Linked DNA regions of Homo sapiens: all the other regions are linked to region 2. Evidence: promoter capture Hi-C in 16 types of primary human blood cells and fetal thymus (Javierre and others, 2016). All regions are on one chromosome and are shown on one strand. Each heading gives the region's core, a stretch centred on a gene start or on the middle of the fragment in contact. The rest is flanking DNA. Distances are from core to core; before and after follow the strand shown.

Region 1 (2,788 bases), core at 222-2,721, 670 kb after region 2:
GCCAAAGTGCTGGGAATACAGATGTGAGCCACCATGCCCAGCTTAGAATATTCTTCAAATGTCCATACCACCCAAAGCAATTTGCAGATTCAAGTGTGATCCCTATCAAAATACAAGAGCCATACTTCACAGAAATCGAAAAAATTATCCTAAAATTCATATGGAACCACAAAAATAGCCAAAGCAATCTTGAGTATGACTTCACAATAGACTACAAATCTAAAGTAACCAAAAAAGCACCGTACTGGCATAAACATAGACAGACCAGTGGAACAGAATAGAGAAACCAGAAATAAATTCACACACTTACCAACGATTTTTGACAAAGGTGCCAAAAACACAGACTGGAGAAAGGACAGTCTCTTCAATGAATGGTGATGGGAAAACTGGATTATCAACATGCAGAACATTGAAACTGGACCCCTATCTTTCACCATATACAAAAATCCACTCAAAATGGATTACGGACTTACATGTAAGACTTGAAACTGTAAAACTACTAAAGGAAAACAGTAAAATTCTACATGACCTTGTCTGTGCAAGGACTTTGTGGATAAGAACTCAAACACACGGGCAGCAAAAGCAAAAACAGACATGAGATTACATCAAACATCTCAATCCCAGCATTATCTCACTCATTCCACCTCTGGGAGTTACTCTGGGGCAGTCTCTGGCTGGATTCATCTTTCTCTGTGCTCTGCACAGACCTAGTACCAAGGGGACTAGAAGCAGCATTTACTTGTTCACTAAAAAAGGGGTATCTGCAGGAAGGTGCTGCAGTTCAGGCTGTGGCCACGCTGGGGCATCAGTAGACAGGTAAAATGTAGTAAGATAACCCACAGAAGGTGCATCGTGACGTGCTTGACAGTAATTCTGTCTGAAGCGTTTTGTTTTGCTTTGTTTTGTTTGAGACAGGGTCTCACTCTGTCACACAGATTGAAGTGCGGTGGCATGATCTCAGCTCACTGCAATCTCCGCTTCCCAGGTTCAGGCGATTCTCCTGTCTCAGCCTCCCGAGTAGCTGGAATTACAGGCGTGTACCACCACACCCGGCTGATTTTTATATTTTTAATAAGAGACGGGGTTTCACCACGTAGGCCAGGCTGGTCTTGAACTCCTGACCTCAAGCTATCTGCACACCTCGGCCTCCCAAAGTACTGGGATTACAGGCGTGAGCCACTGTGCCTGGGCATAAAGTGTTTCCATTAGCAGTACTCATGTTGCGGTATTATTGTCATCATCATCATTTTCATAAAGTAGAAAGTAAAACTTCTCTCAATGGTACCCATAATTTACACTGAAGATGTAACTATTCCTTGAGAACAAGATAGAACCTGGCCTGGGAAACAGCACTAATGCTTGTAAATTAGTTCTGTGACAACTATTCTGATTTCTTCTATGGTTGCTTATTCTTCCATACCATGTAAGTAAATTCCGTGATTATTAGTTTTGGGTGATTCATGCTTTCCCCACTAGAAAGAACAATTTGGTTTATTACGCTATCTTCCACCCGTTTCTCCAACACCAGTCACTATTTCAGTCAGAGCATGAAGAAAAATAATTTTGGAAATGGAAACCTGATGTTCTGCCATTTAAAGGTACTTCATGAAATCCACTCCAAGAGGGATCACTTGCTTCATTTCCTTGCAGAGTTGTTTTTTGTTTTTTTTTTTTTTTTTGCGATGGGGTCCCACTCTGTCGCCCAGGCTAGAGTGCAGTGGTGCAATCTTGGCTCACTGCAACCTCCGCCTGCTGGGTTCAAGCAATTCTCCTGCCTCAGCCTCCTGAGTAGCTGGGATTACAGGCGTCAGCCACCATGCATGGCTAATTTTTCGTATTTTTAGTAGAGTTGGGGTTTCACCATGATGGCCAGGCTGGTCTCAAACTCCTGACCTCGTGATCCATCCGCCTTACCCTCCCAAAGTGCTGGATTACAGACATGAGCCACTGTGCCTGGCCCATTTATTTCTTTATTGTGCAAGCAGTGACTTATTTATCCACTGCTTTTTTTTTTTTTTTTTTTTGAGATGGAGTCTGGCTCTGTCACCTAGGCTGGAGTGCAGTGGCGTGATCTCAGCTCACTGTAACCTCTGCCTCCCAGGTTCAAGCAATTATCTTGCCTCAGCCTCCCAAGTAGCTGGGATTACAGGTGTGCACCACCACACCCAGCTAATTTTTCTGTTTTTAGTGGAAATAGGGTTTCGCTGTGTTGGCGAGGCTGGTCTCGAACTCCTGGCCTTAAGTGATCTGCCTGCCTCGGACTCCCAAAGTGCTGGGATTACAGACATAAGCCACCACACCAGGCCTGGCTCTCCATTTCTTGAACACCACCTTTACCCCAGGTACAGAATTAGTGGTAAATAGTTACACATTACCTATTACATAAACTTTCCATACCTAAGAAGTTCTCTCCCACCTTTTCTGGACACTATATGCTGCTATTTCTTCTCATATTCTTAAAGATTTCCGAGCAAAGAATTTCTATTTGCTTAAATTATCAGATATATATTTGATATACATGTCTGTGAATAGTGTGCAGAGGAAATTAAAAGTATCCCTCTTCAATAAAGGGAAGTGGTTATCATAGGCCCTGGGTCTGGGAGTGAGGTCCAGGTCTACAGTGAAGGGGGGAGGAGACAGGGAAGTCAATCCTGGGGATCAAATCTAAATGCCTACTAAAATCCAAATGGACTGTGTAGGAACAGGTCCCTCATGGATAGAAAAACGAAAAAAACAGTGCTGAGAACAAGTAGGAAAGAGACCTAGAGACTAGGCGCAGTGGCTCACG
Region 2 (2,885 bases), core at 278-2,777:
TGGGTGTTCACTTTTCTTTCCATAAGGAAGCGAGCTTGCCAGTGACCCTCATCCCCCTCCTCATCGATGACTTCTTTGTCATCAGAGCCTTCCTCTTCATAAATTCCCACGGAATCCAAGTTTTCACGTCCCAAATTATGATAGCCACAGGCCCTCACCAGCTGCCATAGCACCCCATTTCATGGAAGCCACCTGACTCTTCTTTGAGCATCCTGTCCCAGGAGCCCCCATCTGTGCTCTCCCGGGCTCCAGGCCCTAGAGCCGCGCTGCTGCAGAGCCCAGTTCCCAGGGCTGCTCCCTCCACGTATCCACATCCATCTCCAGCTTTCCACCCTTTCTCTGACCAGACAGGCCTGGAGGTGCTGCAGTGTCAGTGACCGTGGGTCCCTCCGCTGCCACCTCCACCGCGATCTGGAAGTCTTTTAAATGTACTTAAGTTATCTTAGAATTTTCCTTCCCCACTTTATACATAAACATAGGAGGAGAGCAGGGACTCTGCTGGTGTCTTATTCACACAATGGGATTGAGGGTGTTTGTGTCATGGAACTGATCAATGGGGTGAGAAGTAGCTGAATAACCTGCAGGGGCAGCAGAGCCCGAGGCCAGTGACTCCACGCTGAGGCCAGTCTGGAGCCTGCAAAGGAAGGGAAAGGAGCTTTTCCTGGGGGCTTCCTGGGCAGCCCGCCCTCCCCTACAGGTGGCCTCCAGCTGCTCAGAGCAGCTCCAGAAGGAGTGTGGATTCCGAGAAGCTGTAGGGCCCTGGAAAGCAGAAGACCTTCGTGCAGACGCATTTGTGGGGTTCTGTCCTTTCTGGTGTTGTACCTCTGGAGCCTGGGGCTGTCTTCTGGGCAGGGTTTGGGGTTTGACATACATGGGGTCGCTGGAGTCAGAGTTATTTGTATATATAAAGAAAATGTGTGAAAATCAGGCTAGAGACACAATTGTTTGGTGGCGTCACCTGGATAAAAGGTTTATGAGGTTGACAGTTTATTTAGGTCCGAAGCTTAACCCCAGGTGAGAGTTTCCTGCAGGTGAAAATGAAGATCTGGAAGGACGGAGCATTTTCATACTGTGAGGAGGGGATGGGGGTGTGTGAGCAAGTCTTGGCCATGCCTCATCCCCAATTCCGGCCCGCTCGAGGAAATATGCCTCTCCTCCTGGTGCAGTCTTGCCTGGCCTGGTCTCGGTTCCCCTGCTGCTCTGAGGCAGGAGATGGCTCCTGTGGACACTGAGTCTGAAATTCCCTGCACACTCCTGTGACCCCGTGCAGAACGAAGGAGCGGGGACAGTCCTTTGAGTGAGGAAGACGCTAGTGTTCTCTTCTAACAATAGCAAGTTTGGCTGAAATGCAACTATCCAATAACCCGAGTGCAGGAAGCAGCTCGTGTAAGCTTAGAGAAGCTGTTGCTAGAATCTGTCAGTCTGGCTCCGCAGGGCCTGATACCCAGGGCTTCCGCTGTCACTTAGACGTGGGGGGCGGGGCCGAACATTCCATCCAATCAGAGGCACTGGCTCGGGGCCCTGCCCACTGTGCATCCAGGCACGGAGGATGTTGCATTCCTGCCGTCACCTTTGTCGCTGCGAGGGCGGCGGTTGGGATCTGGCCTTTCCAGCCCCGAGAGGGACCTAGTGCCTCTACCCAGATTTCTGTCGCTCTGTCACCTGCGCTATGCCCTGCTTTACTCACAGGAGCTGTAGAGAGGACCCCGGTACATCTGAAAGCCGGGAAATGGTGCGTGTGCTGGCCGGGAGTGGTGCGATGGGGGAGGGGCTGCCTGGAACTGGCGGGACCCGGGCCTCCCTGTGGGCGACTCCGGGGTCTGGGACCGAGTCCTCCTAGAGCTGCTCGGCCCTCGGTCCCCGCGGCCGCTGGATGTGGGTGGGCCGGCAGCCGGGACTCCGGGCGTCCTGTCCCGTCCCTGCCCGTCGACTGCGGCCTTGGCCCCGAAGCCCTTTTGTGCAGCTCCGCGCCCGCAGCCCGACGCCCCAGCTTGTGCGGGGGCCACGGGAGGGTCATGCGCGGATTTCGACTCGGGTGTGGATTTCGTCCGTAGGAGGAGCAGCGGTCTGTGGGGCCCACAGCCTCCACTTTCTCCTGTTAAAAATTATACTGAGGTACGTTAACAAAAAGTTCATTTGAGGAAACAGCCATTCACGAATGAGAAACACCCGGTCCTGGCTTGTGGTTTGTCAACGGAAAAAAAACAGACTATGTAAAATACAGAAGTGTATTCAGAGCCGAGTAGGAGAGACCTTGGCCGAGGGAAACACAACCCCAAGCAGCCTGGAGTAAGTGGTCCGGAGGCGGCTCAGGACAGTTTGGTTTTATTCATTTCAGAGAGACAGGAATTGCAGGGAAAATGATGGATCAAGGCTGGAAGGTGTAAATTCCATTGGCAGAAAGGGTGGGACCTGTGGAAGGGGGGTTAGGAGGCACAGGTGGTTGAGGGATTCTGTAGGTGGCAGCTGGTTGAGAGTGTGAAGCTTTGTCTAAAGTTTGGAGGAGGTAGGAAGGAATGCTGAAGGAAGGGGGTCTGTTATCTGCCACTTCATTCCATCCCAGCCAAAAAACAGTCCTGTTTCTCTAGATTTTATGAATTCTAAGACGTAACTTTACCTTTGCCTTGCGTGGCCTTAGGTCTTGTTTGTAATTTGGTATCTTGTTGCCACAAGGAGTCTGTTTTTCCAGTCAGAGAATGTCTGTTTTTACATGAATGTGCGTCAGTTGCTGCATGTAAACTCCTAAAGGGAGAGGGTATAAGGAGACCTGTCTCACCTCCCATCCTGTCATACAGAGGCACTCAATTTTCAGGGTGTTTTGGGGGTTCCCTTGGCCAAGAGCCAGTCACTTCACTTAGCTGGGAAGGTACTTTGTTTGTTTTTGT
Region 3 (2,700 bases), core at 196-2,695, 650 kb after region 2:
AGAGAACAGTTTGGAGGTTCCACACACACAAAAAAAATAAAAATAGAGCTGCCATTTGATCCAGCAACCCCACTTTTAGGTAAATACCCCAAAGAAAGGAAATCCATGTATTGAAGAGAGATATCTGCACTCCTATGTTTATTGCAGCATTATTCACAATCCCCAAGATTTAGAAGCAACCTAACTGTCCCTCAACAGATGAATGGATTAAAAAAAAAATGTTCCAAATACACAATGGAGTACTATTCAGCCATAAAAAAGAATGAGATCCTGTCATTTGCAACAATTTGGATGGAATTAGAGGTCATTATGTTAAGCGAAATAAGCCAGGCACAGAAAGACAAACTTCACATGTTCTCACTTATTTTTGGGAGCAAAAAATTAAAACAATTGACCTCATGGAGATAGAGAGTAGAAGGATGGTTACCAGAGGCTGGAAAGGGTAGTGCGGGGGTTGGGGGAAGGGGAAGTGAAGATGGTTAATGGCCACAAAAAATAGAATGAATGAGACCTAGTATTTGCTAGCATAACAGGGTGATTATAGTAAAAAATAATTTGGTTGCACATTTTTAAATAACTAAAAGAGTATAATCGGCTTGTTTGTAACACAAAGGATAAATGCTTGAGTTGATGGATTCCCCATTTACCATGATGTGATTATTAGGCATTGCATGCTTACATCAAAATATCTCATGTAACTCATAAATATATACACCTACTATGTACCCACAACAAAACTTAAAATTAAAAATGTAAACATTGCCTGGTCTCTGTGAACCTACGGGGTCACAGTTCTGAGTGTCCTGGCAGCATGATGCCAAGCCACTGTCCTCTGGAGAATATCTGACTCTCCTGATCCAGTATGGCCTTGCCTCCAGGGCCCTTTTGCTGTGGATTTACTCCTCAAAGAGTCAGTCATCAAGGGGTTCGCTTTATCTGGAAACTCTTGTCTGGCATTCCCTGCGCGCACACCTATGTCCCCGTTCAGAAGCTTCTTCGGTAAACGCCAGTGTCCGGTCTGAGGGCCTTTATATCTAGCATATAAAGTTCTGGTATAATGCAAATGTCTCTGGCAGGACAGTTTCAGGGACAAAAGTGGAAGCTGGATCGCTCAGCTACCTGACCTCCGTCTGAGATGTGACTCAGGCAACAGGGGGTGGAACCTCACAAACTGTCCAATTGGAGACGCCGCCGGAGCGGTGGGTGGGGCCGCCCTGTACAAAGGCGCGTGGATACGGTGGCGCGATTTCCAGTTTGTGTCTCTCCTGCCTCGAACGTCGCTAGGTGGCTCTGCCGCAGCCTCTGTCGCTCTGGGACCCGCACTGGCAGAGGGAGTCGTAGTTAGGGGGTGGGGACACCGCGGAAGCCCGGAAATGGTGACTGTGCGGGGCCTGGAATCCCGAGACCTGAAGAGCTGCTGGCCGGAACCGGCTGTCGCGGGAACCGGGCCTGCCCGCGGCCACTCCTGGGTCTGTGAACCCGAGTCCCCCTGGCGTAGCTCGGCCCTCGGCCTCCTCCCGCCGCAGAGTGAAGCTGGGCCGGCAGCCAGGATCCCGGGAGTCCTGTCCTGTCCCCGCGCGGCTACTGAGGCCCGGGTCCCGGAGCCCTGTGTGGGCAGCTCCATGCCCGTAGCCCCGCGTCTTCCAAGATTGTGTGGGGATCACGGGAGGGTCATAGGAGAGAAGGAATCCCGGCTCGAGTGTGGCGTTCGTGCGTGGGAGGAGCGGTGGTCCGTGGGGTCCCCAGTCTCTTCTTTTTCCCCAGGGGGACCGGTTTGCCCCTTAATTTTACAAACGTGTGAAAACAGGATCTCAAATCCACGACCCCGTTTTCCAGCCTAGCTCTTCCTAGGACTGACAGGAAATCCCTAAATTTGCCAATTCCTTCTTTCATTCCAAATGAAGCTTTCCCTCTCCAATTCATAATATTATTATTTGCCCTGTTAAATACAATTTGTAGGAAGCCATTGGTTTAGACTGAGCTCCTGCACTAGACCCAACAGACCAAACCAAAATGAGTTACCCACGGGGACGTTCCTCGCTACCAAGCTGAAACTAAGTTGTTTATCTGACCTTACAAATTATCAGGAGAGAAAGAGATGCTGGTCAAATCCCCAACAGGCCAGTTTTAGCCAACATGATAAAGAAAGTCCCCTCTGCTTTAACTTTTACCAGAAAAGCAACTTTGAAAGTTCCCGTCTTTCAACTGGGCGTGATGGCTCACGCCTGTAATCCCAGCACTTTGGGAGGCCGAGGTGGGTGGATCATTTGAGGTCAGGAGTTCGAGACCAGCCTGGCGAACATGGTGAAACCCTCGTCTCTACTAAAAATACAAAAATTAGCTGCATGATGGCCTGTGCTTGTAGTCCCAGCTACTCAGGGGGCTGAGGTGGGAGGCTCACTTAAGCCCAAGCCCTGGAGGTCGAGGCTGCGGTGAGCTATGATCTCGCCACTGCGCTACAGCCTGGGTGACAGAGGGAGACCCTGTCTCAAAAAAATAAACATCAATAGCGGTTGAAAGCCCCATGACTGGGGAGCAGCAGCCAGAGACTAGTGACTTCAAGCTAAGACCACTCTTGAGCCTGCAAAGGGAGGTCATTGAAAGCCCAGATGGGTCTTCCTGGGGAGCCTTCCCCAAAAGTGTCCTACTTGCTCTCACCCACCAAGGAAAGAGCTCTTTATACAGAGAGAAGCTACAGAG

Evidence for each region. Contacts are between HindIII fragments. The CHiCAGO score rates a contact against its expected background, and 5 or more counts as called.
Region 1: a contact is called between a fragment that was not itself captured here and the fragment with the promoter of ZNF439 in region 2, in 1 of 17 cell types (erythroblasts). The highest score is 6.3, in erythroblasts.
Region 3: a contact is called between a fragment that was not itself captured here and the fragment with the promoter of ZNF439 in region 2, in 5 of 17 cell types (fetal thymus, naive CD4 T cells, non-activated CD4 T cells and 2 more). The highest score is 11.6, in fetal thymus.

Annotation. Positions count from the first base shown.
Region 1 is chr19:12,521,405-12,524,192 of GRCh38, forward strand. No RefSeq gene overlaps it. Among named protein-coding and RNA genes, the nearest start is that of ZNF564, 29 kb to the right of the region's middle. RefSeq lists a silencer at 631-925. The HindIII fragment of the contact is 5,681 bases long and covers 1-2,788 here.
Region 2 is chr19:11,847,199-11,850,083 of GRCh38, forward strand. ZNF439 (zinc finger protein 439) reads left to right here and starts at 1,528. Exons shown (of 4, transcript NM_001348719.2): 1 at 1,528-1,732. The coding sequence starts at 1,670. The HindIII fragment of the contact is 1,093 bases long and covers 1,390-2,482 here.
Region 3 is chr19:12,494,183-12,496,882 of GRCh38, forward strand. No RefSeq gene overlaps it. Among named protein-coding and RNA genes, the nearest start is that of ZNF709, 11 kb to the left of the region's middle. RefSeq lists enhancers at 340-1,220, 1,221-2,100, 1,362-1,441 and a silencer at 1,122-1,171. The HindIII fragment of the contact is 913 bases long and covers 990-1,902 here.